Regions from separate parts of the Homo sapiens genome. Here all the other regions are linked to region 3. The links are contacts of gene promoters, found by promoter capture Hi-C in blood cells and fetal thymus (Javierre and others, 2016). All regions are on one chromosome and are shown on one strand. Each heading gives the region's core, a stretch centred on a gene start or on the middle of the fragment in contact. The rest is flanking DNA. Distances are from core to core; before and after follow the strand shown. Region 1 has its middle 6.5 kb from the start of MIR4515. Region 2 overlaps HOMER2 (homer scaffold protein 2). Region 3 holds the start of RAMAC (RNA guanine-7 methyltransferase activating subunit). Region 4 overlaps HOMER2 (homer scaffold protein 2).

What was found. The method cuts DNA at HindIII sites, captures the fragments that hold promoters and counts their contacts. A CHiCAGO score of 5 or more calls a contact.
Region 1: a contact is called between a fragment that was not itself captured here and the fragment with the promoter of RAMAC in region 3, in 3 of 17 cell types (neutrophils, naive CD8 T cells and total CD8 T cells). The highest score is 6.2, in neutrophils.
Region 2: a contact is called between a fragment that was not itself captured here and the fragment with the promoter of RAMAC in region 3, in 8 of 17 cell types (megakaryocytes, M2 macrophages, M0 macrophages and 5 more). The highest score is 17.8, in megakaryocytes.
Region 4: a fragment that was not itself captured here is called in contact with the fragment with the promoter of RAMAC in region 3 in 2 of 17 cell types (M2 macrophages and megakaryocytes); the score reaches 6.4 in M2 macrophages.

Annotation. Positions count from the first base shown.
Region 1 is chr15:83,072,517-83,075,216 of GRCh38, reverse strand. No RefSeq gene overlaps it. Among named protein-coding and RNA genes, the nearest start is that of MIR4515, 6.5 kb to the right of the region's middle. The HindIII fragment of the contact is 7,362 bases long and covers 1-2,700 here.
Region 2 is chr15:82,862,431-82,865,135 of GRCh38, reverse strand. HOMER2 (homer scaffold protein 2) reads left to right here. Exons shown (of 9, transcript NM_004839.4): 4 at 877-969. Among named protein-coding and RNA genes, the nearest start is that of WHAMM, 54 kb to the right of the region's middle. The HindIII fragment of the contact is 3,796 bases long and covers 1-2,705 here.
Region 3 is chr15:82,984,909-82,987,608 of GRCh38, reverse strand. RAMAC (RNA guanine-7 methyltransferase activating subunit) reads right to left here and starts at 1,399. Exons shown (of 4, transcript NM_031452.4): 1 at 1,240-1,399; 2 at 225-273. It also overlaps a transcript of HOMER2 not described here. The HindIII fragment of the contact is 1,767 bases long and covers 217-1,983 here.
Region 4 is chr15:82,909,560-82,912,264 of GRCh38, reverse strand. All of the region lies in intron 1 of HOMER2 (homer scaffold protein 2), which reads left to right. The region is part of intron 2 of LOC105370928 (a long non-coding RNA gene); the gene reads right to left. Among named protein-coding and RNA genes, the nearest start is that of HOMER2, 42 kb to the left of the region's middle. The HindIII fragment of the contact is 5,351 bases long and covers 1-2,705 here.

The sequences.
Region 1 (2,700 bases), core at 151-2,650, 88 kb before region 3:
GATGGGAAGTGTTTGGATCACAGGGCAGGTCCGACATAAATGTCTTGGTGCTATTCTCATGGGAGTAAGTGAATTCTCACTCTTAGTTCTCATTAGAACTGATTATTGAAAGAGCCTGGCACCTCCTCCCCTCTCTCTTGCTTCTTCTCTCACCATGTGATCTGTACATGCCAGCTGCCCCCTTTGCCTTCCACCATGAGTAGAAGCAGCCTGCAAAACTGTGAGCCAAATAAACCTCTTTTCTTTATAAATTATGTAGCATCAGGTACTCCTTTATAGCATCACAAATGGACTAGGACAGAAAATTTGTACCAAGGGTCGGGGGTTACTAGGAAGATACCTGAAAATGTGGAAGTGGTTTTAAAACTGAGTAATGGGAAGATGTTGGAAGAGTTTGGAGGGCTCAGAAGAAGACAGGAAGACAAGGGAAAGTTTGAAACTTTGAGACTGGTTAAGTGGTTGTGGGCAAAATGCTGATAGAAACATGAACAATGAAGGCCAGGCTGATGAGGTCTCAGTTGGAAATGAGGCACTTATTGGGAACTGGAGCAAAGGTCACCCTTGTTAAACTATAGCAAATAACGTGGCTGCATTGTGTCCATGCACTAGGACTTTGTGGAAGGCTGAACTTCAGAGTGATGACCTAGGGTATCTGGTAGAAGAAATTTCTAAGCAGCAAAGCATCCAAGACATGGTGTGGCTACTTTTAACAGATTATGAGCAGATATAGGAGTCAAGGCATGATCTAAAATTGGAACTTAAAAGGGAAGCAGAGAGTAAAACTTTGGAAAATTCTCAGCCTGGCCATGTGGTACAGAAGGAAAGAACATTTTCAGGTGAGGAATCCAAGAGCACAGCTGAGCCACCACTTGTTAGAGAGATTATCACAGATAAAAGGGAGGCAGGTGCTCGGGCCAGGCGTGGTGGCTCACGCCTGTAATCTCAGCACTTTGGGAGGCCAAGGTGGGCAGATCACAAGGTCAGGAGTTCAAGACCAGCCTGGCCAACATGGTGAAACCCCGTCTCTACTAAAAATACAAAAATTAGCTGGGCATGGTGGCACATGCCTATAATCCCAGCTACTTGGTAGGCTGAGGCAAGAGAATAACCTGAACCCAGGAGGTGGAGGTTGCAGTGAGCCAAGACCATGCCACTGCACTCCAGCCTGGCAACAGAGCGAGACAGTCTTTAACAAAAAAAAAAAAAAAAAAAAAAAAAAAAAAAAAAAAAAAAAAAAAAAAAAGGGAGGCAGGTGCTAATAGTCAAGACAATGGAAAAAGTCCCTGAAGGCATTTCAGAAATCTTCAAGTCTGTCTCTCCCATCACAGGCCAGGGGTCTAGGAGGACAGAATGTTTTGGGGGCCAGGCCTGGGGTGCTGCTGCCCTGCAGCCACCTTTGGACTCTGCTTCCTACATTCCAGCCCTGGGTGCTGCTCAGGCTGCCTATCCAGAGGATGCAAGCCATAAGCCTTGGTGGCATCCACGTGGTGTTAAGTCTGCAGATATGCAGAATGCAAGAGTAGCAAAGGCTTACATTTCCTTGTAGTTTGATATATTTCATCAGTATGGAAATTTTCCAGCCAGTATTTTTTTCAAATGCTCTTCTGCCTCATTCTCTATCATCCTTCTATGACTCCATTATACATATGTTAGTCCTTTTCACTTTGTCTCATGATTAACAGAATTAACAGACATATGTTGTTTCCTATTTATTTATTTATTTTATTGAGACAGGATCTCATTCTGTTGCCCAGGCTGGAGTGCAGTGGCATGATCATGGCTCACTGCAGCCTCCACCTCCAGGGTTCAAGTGATTCTCCTGCATCAGCCAGCTGAGTATCTGGGATTACAGTTGGACACCACTATGCCCAGCTAATTTTTGTATTTTTTGTAAAGGTGGAGCTTTGCCATGTTGCCCAGGCTGGTCTCAAACTCCTGGCCTTAAGCAATCTGCCTGTCTTGGGCTCCTAAAGTGCTGGGATTACAGGTGTGAGCTGCTGTGCCTGGCCTGTTTTCTGTATTTTCTATGCTTTTTTCTCTCTGTGTTTCAATTTAAACATTTTCTACAGGCTTGTCTTCCAGTTACATTAATTCTCTGTTCTGCTATATCTAATTTTCTATTAAACACAAATTAGTTATTAATTTGTTATAGTACTTTTTCAGGTCAAGGATCTCCATTTGACCCTTCTGCACAGATTCCAATTCTCTGGTAAAATTCTTCATCTTTTTTCTATTTTTTTCATACAGTAATTATAGTTATTTTATTTATTATTATTATTATTATTATTATTTTTATTTTTTTTTTTTTTGAGATGGGATCTCGCTCTGTCAGGCCCAGGCTGGAGTGCAGTGGTGCAATCTTGGCTTACTGCGACCTCCGCCTCCCAGGTTCAAGCGATTCTCCCACCTCAGTCTCCCAAATAGCTGGGATTATAGGCACCCACTACCACGCCCAGCTAATTTTTTGTATTTTTAGTAGAGATAAGGTTTTACCATACCGGCCAGGCTGGTCTCAAACTCCCTACCTCAGGTGATCCACCTGCCCTCAGACTCCCAAAGTGCAATCATAGTTATTTTAAAGTCCTTGTCTGATAAATTCAATACCTGAATCCTATAGAACTGATTCCATTATCTTCTCTCTCTCTCCCTCTCTCTCATGTTTTCAATATGCCTCATAATTTTTAATTTTCTTGACAACAT
Region 2 (2,705 bases), core at 189-2,688, 120 kb after region 3:
ACTGCTTACCCTAGGGTGCTGGGTTCACCTACATCTGTTATCTGGCAAGGTTTCCTAAAGTAGACCACTGTTGTCGGCATTGTGAAGATACTCAGAGGATAGCCTGTGCTCAGAAATAAATGAGTTCTCAATAAAACCTGCAGAATTGGTGATAGCCTTGCAACTTGCTAGTTTTTGTTTTGTCTGCAACCATATTTAGCTCTTACTTTGTAATACCACCATTATCACAGGCTATTCTCTGTTCAAACAATGAATTTGCTAATTAAAATTGGCCACCTTGTTAGTGGCAATAAGCTAATGGGTGATATGATTGTCCCAGGACTTGAAGAACTGTTTTATTATGGAACTATTAAGATATTAATAAAAAGTGGAGGGCATAGTATAATGAACACCCATATACACATTACCTAGATTTAACAGTTGTTAACATTTTACCACATTTCTTCATCTCTTTTATTGTTTTTGAAGTACTTTAAACTATAAGCATCAAGACATTTCACTCCTAAATACTTAGTATTCATCTAGAAAAAAATGACACTAAGAGGTTTTGGATCTTTTCGGTATGGATTATGAAGTTTTCCGTGGATTTCTTTTGTGGTATAGCCAAATTTCATTTGCCATTTTTGTATTAGTTTGTTTTTAATACATCATCATCAAACTAGCTTCAGTAGCTTAGATATGGGTTCAGAACTGACCTTGCCCAGTGCTGTTTACTGGAATATACATCCTTATATTCATTTAATAGCAAATAAAATTCTTCTGGATTTATACAGAATGTATGGGCCTAAAATGGATGCAAAATAAATAAAGGTGGGTTCTGAATACCAGCCATGAGTGAGGTTAATAAAAGCCTTAATAACTATTCTTCATGTTCAGTTTGCAGAGAAATTCCAGGAGGTGAAAGAAGCTGCCAAGATAGCCAAAGACAAGACGCAGGAGAAAATCGAGACCTCAAGTAATCATTCCCAAGTAAGACATTAGTCTATGAAGTAAATCCCAGTGGGGTTGGTGATAGGGACTCTTTGTTCCTTGTCACTTCTGGCCAGAAATAGGGAATTTTGACAATAGGTCATTTTGAAGGCTTTTTCAACTATTAGCCTGATCACAGTGACATGTTTTTATGAGACTCTTGAATTTTTTAGGATGTGGTACTGTATTTCTGACAGAAAATGGTTGATGTGATTTGAGTTAATACACATCCTGGCCCAGGAGAGACATTCTGTGGTCACTGTGTTTAAATGCCAGAGGCGAGGCAGCATGTCTCCTGGCTGTGCTGGGAGGTGAGTTTCTGTGTAGGGTACCTTGTGCCCACAAGAGAGAGACTTGATGTCAGACAGCCCTTGTGTTCATCTCCGGTTTTAACAGAGGTCAGGTGGAAGTGGTTATTCCAACAGCTCTGTCTTAACAGAGGAGATCCGGCTTGGCCAGGAATTCAGTAGTCTGTCTAAAGTGTGAAGATTGACTGAAAAGGACCTATTTTAATCTGAAATCAACACACCCACTTTCCTGATGTCTAGATTAGTATATGTGGTGGTGGGGGAAGTCGACCTAGTGACAGGGTTATATGTAGAAAGCCAGGGAAAGGGAGACTTCAGGAGAGAATACTTAGGGGCAGGAGTAAGTGTGATATACTAGCAAGATAGCCAGGAGTCTGCCTGCTGGCAGCTGAGGTGTGCTGTCGGAGGCGTTGAGATGTGCTTGGAGATACTGTGAAGACCTAGAATTCTTCATTACTGGGTAATTTTTTATTTATTAGCTACTTGTTTAATTATTCTTGAGTAGTTGGTGGACGTTGGAAGTGTGTTGTGACTGTTGATTTGGATTTCACCTGAGAGGGTTGGCTTGCTTGCAGATGGTAAGGCAGGCAGGGAGGGACTGAGAGCAGAAAGATTGTCGAGGGGGCTGTGAAGGAGAGAATAGCTGGGCCAGGGAAGCCCGGGGAGGGGGTTGCAAATGAGGACAGGTTGCAGGAAGAGAACCAGGAGGCCTGGGCATCTTGAGCAGTCAAGATCGATGCTCTAGACTTGACCATCAGCCTCACAGGGGCAGTAGCTGCAGTCTCGGGTGCACAAAGAAGCAGTGGAGAGAGGAGGGCAGATGCTGGAGCCCTAGGAAATAGGCCCAGTTATGAAATGGGAGCCAGCAAAGATGACAGGGAGGGAGAAATTCCAGCATCGCTGAGCCCCAGGAGGGAGTATGCCCAATATGTCGGTGCTCAGAGAGGAGGGGAGAGAATGCTGACAGGGACCCTGGGTTTGTCAGTGCTGTGGCCGACCCTTGGGACAGGAGATTTGGTGTGGCTCAGGATGTTTCACAAAGGCAGAACCTATGTCTGCCTTGAGTTGTCTTTCCAATACCTTGTTCTGGCCTCATCATATAAAATATGCCCACATGGACCTATGGAAATGCATGTGAATTCGATTTCAGGTAGACAGGAACTTTCCTGAATCTTTCTAAATAATCTTTAATATGATTCAGTGATACCATTAATTTTGTATGCTAATTACTTGATTAATCTCTGAGGACCTATGAAATTCAGCATCTGAAATTGTCCATGGTCTAGAAAGTTTCTAATATACTATCTTTTTCAGAATACCGCATAGTACAGTGATATATTTAAGTTTAATATCTGAATTTCTCCAGATAAGATTTTGTTTTAATATTTACCCCCTCTCAAAAGTTTATTTATTTGAGACGGGGTCTTG
Region 3 (2,700 bases), core at 150-2,649:
GTCTAGAATTCTAGTGGGATCACAGAAATCACTAAAAAGATGACCCATACCTAATCCAGATGGGCAGTAAAAATCATAAGGCAAGGAAAAGGTGCTACTCCATTTTTATGTTCTCATATGTTCTCCCACGACTCCCCACCCATACTCATGTAAACAAATATCAACTGTATTATTACTGAGAACGAAATTTAAATAGAATGTTAATCGACCCAAGCTTTACTTACCCCAAAGGTTTGAGGCAGCTGTACTGCTTAATGTTTAGGTTGTTTAAATCTGTGGGAGGAAAAAAACAAACTTGACTTTATTTAAGGAAACTCTCAAAAGGTGTTTGTAGGGGAGGGTGGCGCATAAGAGTCTTATTCAAGGAAAGAATTGGAGTAAAAGTGCTCTAAGGCCAGGCGCGGTGGCTCACCTCTGTAATCCCAACACTTTGGGAGGCCGAGGCGGGCAGATCACGAAGTCAAGAGATCGAGACCAGCCTGGCTAACACGGTGAAACCTCGTCTCTCCTAAAAATAGAAAAAATTAGCCAGGCGTGGTGGCATGTGCCTGTAGTCCCAGCTACTCGGGAGGCTGAGGCAGGAGAATCGCTTGAACTTGGGAGGCGGAGATCGCGCCACTGCACTCCAGCCTGGGCGACAGAGCGAGACTCCGTCTCAAAAAAAAAACAAAAAACAAACCAAAAAAACGCTCTAAAGACTTCCAAAGCTAATATTCCAAAGAGGGAACTGGTTCTCAAGAGCAAGAAGCTACAAGATTTGTCCTCTGGGCCTTCAAAAGCAAAATAGTTCAAGTATGAATACAAACTTCATAAAGTATGTATGTTCTTTTAGGGTAAGCCTTTCAGATTTGTACTTGAATACTGCTAATTTATTCACCACAAATAAAACCACAAAGAACTTTGGCTGCGGGCGACTAACCCTGGAAATAACCAACCAGAATGGGGTTTCGCTGCCCTGGGAGGTGAGCCCGGGGAACAGACGAAGATGCAGACTGAAAACAACTGCGTTTTCCAGTCCGTCCTCAAGGCACATCACAGCTTGCTTACCAAGGTTCTGGCAGATTTGCTCCCTTCCGAAGCACCTTATACCTCCAGAAGTGAGGGAAATTATGGGCCGTGAGAAGTAAACGGGCTTCGGTCTAGCAAAGAGTACAGATCACCGCACAGGGGGAGGACACCTCGCTGGCCACCCAGCTCGGCCGCCCCGCTCCCTCCTCCCGGGCGTCCGGGGCGACTCACCCGCCAAGGGCTATGTCAATCCAGCTCAGGCCGAACCCCGCCGGCGAGACACTGAGAAGCCCAGGAGAGGTGGCCTCTGGTCCACTACACCGTGGAACTCCAGACCACTCCAGTTCTCCAATGTAACCGAGCGCCTTCCTCTAAAATCCGACAACCACCTGACTTCCGCTTCCGGCGGGCTAAAGTTGAGGGTGCCTGTCAAGTCTCGCGATAACTAAGGCTCTCCGTGTGGATCGCTTTGCAACAGATCGCTTCTTCAAATGCTGGCACAACGCCCAGAGCTCGATGAGGTGTGGGCAAGTAGCTGTCTAAAGGTGGATGATGCCCTCCATGCACTTTCAGCCTGCCTGGTGGCTGGGCAGTCGAAAACGTCGCCGTCTATTAAGCTCCTTTGATTGGGAGCAGGTGACGGGTAGAGACGGAAGTTCTGGGAATCACCGGAGAAGGGAGGGAAGGGCTCCTTCCGGCCGCCTGCTCCCGGAGTCTTCGTGGGGAACGTGAGGTGAGAGCAGGCGGTGAAGAGTAGACACGACTGATGACTTCAGGGATGCTACACCTTTCTCTCCTGCCTGGGCAAGCCTCGGTAGTAAGATTTCCGTAGTCCGTTTTGTATGTGGTTTTGCAGAAACATACCCCCTCTCTGCTCCAGCTTCAGTCGTCAGTATCCAGCTACTTCCAAGAGTCTTGCCCATGTCTTGTGGGATGTTCAGCAAATGTATAAACACTTAATATCCCGACAAAGCTTGGCCTCTTCCCTCCCAAATTACTTCCCAGGCTATGCACCCGTTTTTGTTAATACAACCAACTTGGAAACTTTGATGTCAGATTTGATGCCCTTTCTTGCCTTTCCATGCTCCAATCACTTGCCAAGTCCTGTCGATTGTACCCCTACAGTAATTCTTGCATCTTCTTACCCACTGCCCCCACCTAATCAACGTTCTCATTACCATCCCCTGCACGGTGTCAGTGCAGTACCTTTCTCATTGATGTCCTGCCTCTAGCATCACTCTGCTACTAGCCTATCTTACATATACCTGCTATAGGTGTAGCCATCTTCAAGCACCACCGTGATCCAAAATAGCTGATCCAATGGCTCTCTGTTGCCTGTAGATTAAAGGTCAAGTTTATTAACTTGGATTCAAAACTTTTTTTATTTTCTGCTGTTCCCCTTCCATTCTCCCTCAGTCAGTGGTAAACCAGACCCTGTGAAGTACGTCATGCATAAATTATTACATTTTTATAGATTGCTCATGTCCCTTGCATGAAATACCTGTCTCTCCCCCTCATCTCCAAATGTTGAAATTCTTTCCATTATTTAAAGCTTTAGAAAGTGACATCTCTACCTAGAAATAATTTTTCTTTCTATTGAGAGTCCATCATATTTCTGGAATTTCATGTATTTAGTTATTACCACTTTCTAACTTCGAACTAAAATTATTTACTTGCAAGTCTTTCCCCCTA
Region 4 (2,705 bases), core at 36-2,535, 75 kb after region 3:
TAGGGGCTGGGGGAAGAGGAGAATGATTGCTAATGAGTACGGGGTTTGAGGGGTGCTCTGAAAATGCCCTGAAATTAAGCAGTGGTGATGGTTACGCAATTCTGTGAATAAAAAGCCACTGAATTGGGGACTTTAAAAAGGTAGATTTTATGGTGTCCACATTATATCTCAATACAAATAACTTTAAAAATTATTCATTTTTTATGTGAAATTTAAATTCATTTATTTATTTTTTGGGACAGAGTTTCACTCTGTTGCCCAGGCTGGAGTGCAGTGGTGCGATCTTGGCTCACTGCAACCTCCGCCTCCTGGGTTCAAGCAATTCTCCTGCCTCAGCCTCCCAAGTGGCTGGGATTACAGGTACTTGCCACCACACCTAGCTAATTTTTGTACTTTTGTAGAGATGGGGGTTTTACCATGTTGACCAGTCTGGTCTCGAACTCCTGACCTCAGGTGAGGTCCTGTCTCGGCCTCCCAAAGTGCTGGAATTACAGGTGTGAACCACCTCACCCGGCCGTGAAATTTAAATTTAGCTGAAAGTCCTGTCTTTTTATCTGCCAAATCTGGCAACTCTATACTTGCCAACTGTTCTTGTAAATAAAGTTTTATTGGAACACACACATATAGCCATTAGCCTGAGAGACCAACTGATAGTGTAAATGAAAATATAAACACTCTTTTGAGGTATGTCTGCACCTTTGGTTTTATGCTTTACACTTTTTGTAATTGACTTGGCAAGTTACCAGCTCTTTACACCATGCAATCTAATTTTAAACTAAAGTGATTCCTAGGAAAATAAAAAAACAGCTTTTTTTCCCCTAAACCTAAATTCAGAGTGGTAGCCGTACATTTACAACGACTGGCTTCTAGAAGTGGTACTAGGGTACTTCTTGCTGCTACCTGGAAACCTGAAAGGGTAGGTACCTGGGAACCATAAAACCAGTTTGCCAAAACTAGAACTAATTTGCAAGTAAAGGAAAAAAACAAGTCCTAGACTTCTAAGTTTTTAAACTTTGAACAATTTTCTTAAGTTATAAAAGCACAGTTATTCTTTTTGAAGATTTCTTTGTTTAATTTGCTGATGGTAATAGGGAGAGAGAGCTAGATTCTCTATGGGAGGGTTGAGCTGTCTAAGGTGGCAAAGGGATTCTCTTCCCTGCAGTGGCGTCTTACACCTATAATCAACATAACATTCCTTTAACAGTCTGCTATTAATAGCAAAAAGGCACTTTGCACATGTTATCACATTTAATCTTAACAAACCCTTGAGGTGGTTATATTAATGTCCCTACCTCACACAGACTGAAGGGACTTAGCCCTGAACCCTCCTCCCTTACTCCTTAAGAAGAGAAACGGAAAAGTTGTGTGGAGCAGCCTTCCTCTTGTTTAACTTTGACCCTGACAGAAACCAGACTTGAAACTAGGCACTGTTACGTTGCTGAGACAAAATGAAGAATGTTTCTGAGGAGAACAAAAATCACCTGGTGACCATTGAACAGGCCCCGGAGACAAAAACTCCCATCTGAGGAATTTAGAAGGGAGCAAAGACCACCTGGTGACCATCAAACACGCCTTCCGAGGCAAACTCCTTATCTGGGAAATTAGAAGTAATTGCACTTCCCTATTATCTAAAGCAGGCATCTGGTTCCAGATTTCTTTCCCCCAAAATTTATAAGTCACTAGGATTTCTATACATCTCCAGAATGCCATGCCAAAACGTACTGTGCAACCCTTGCTGACATTAAGGCACCAGAATTACTACAGATGTAATCATTTATCATGACCTACGTGGCTAGTATGGTCCAAATTACCCTCAAGCTCCTGCCTTAAGGTCCATAAATACCCCTAAGGAAAAATCCACCATAAGGTGCTCAGTCCTCTCACCGACTCACCCCACTGGACTCCTCGGCAGCGTTCCTTCTTTCTAATAAAACTTCTTCAAGCCTATATGGTTGTCAGTAAATTCTTACCAACCCACGAGTCAACCACTTTACAATGTGGGGGCTTTGACACCTCACCTGGCAGTATCATCTTTTTAATGTGTATTTGAGATGTCCGTCACTTTCTTTACCTTTCTCAGTAAAGGTAGGGAAACAAGTTAGCCTTTTTTTTTTTTTTTTTTTTTTTTTTTTGAGACAGAATCTTGCTCTGTTACCCAGGCTGGAGTGCAGTAGCATGATCTCAGCTTACTGCAACTTCTACCTCCCAGGTTCAAGCGATTCTCCTGCCTCAGCCTCCTGAGTAGCTGAGATTACAGGCACACACCACCATGCCTGGCTAATTTGTATTTTTAGTAGAGACGGGGTTTCACCATGTTGGCCAGGCTGGTCTCAAACTCCTGACCTCGGGTGATCTATCTGTCCCGGCCTCCCAAAGTGTTGGGATTACAGGCATGAGCCACCGCACCCAGCTGAAACAAGTTAGCTTTTAATATGATATGTAACTGTAGGATACAGTAAAATTCCTCTTCAAAGGTTTTAGCCTGTTAACTTCCTTTAAAATCCAAGAGTGGAAAAGTTGTTAAGTACAATGAGTTCTGAGTTCCTCTTCAAAGAGCCAATATGTCAGTATGTTCAGCTCTCTGGTTCTTTGTTCTCCATTTTAAAGTTTAACTTCCTTGTTCTTTACACCTCCTTGCCCCTAGCTTCAGTAAATGACCCCCTCCTAGCCTCTATTACCTGCTCTGACCTTAGTCATCCTTGGTC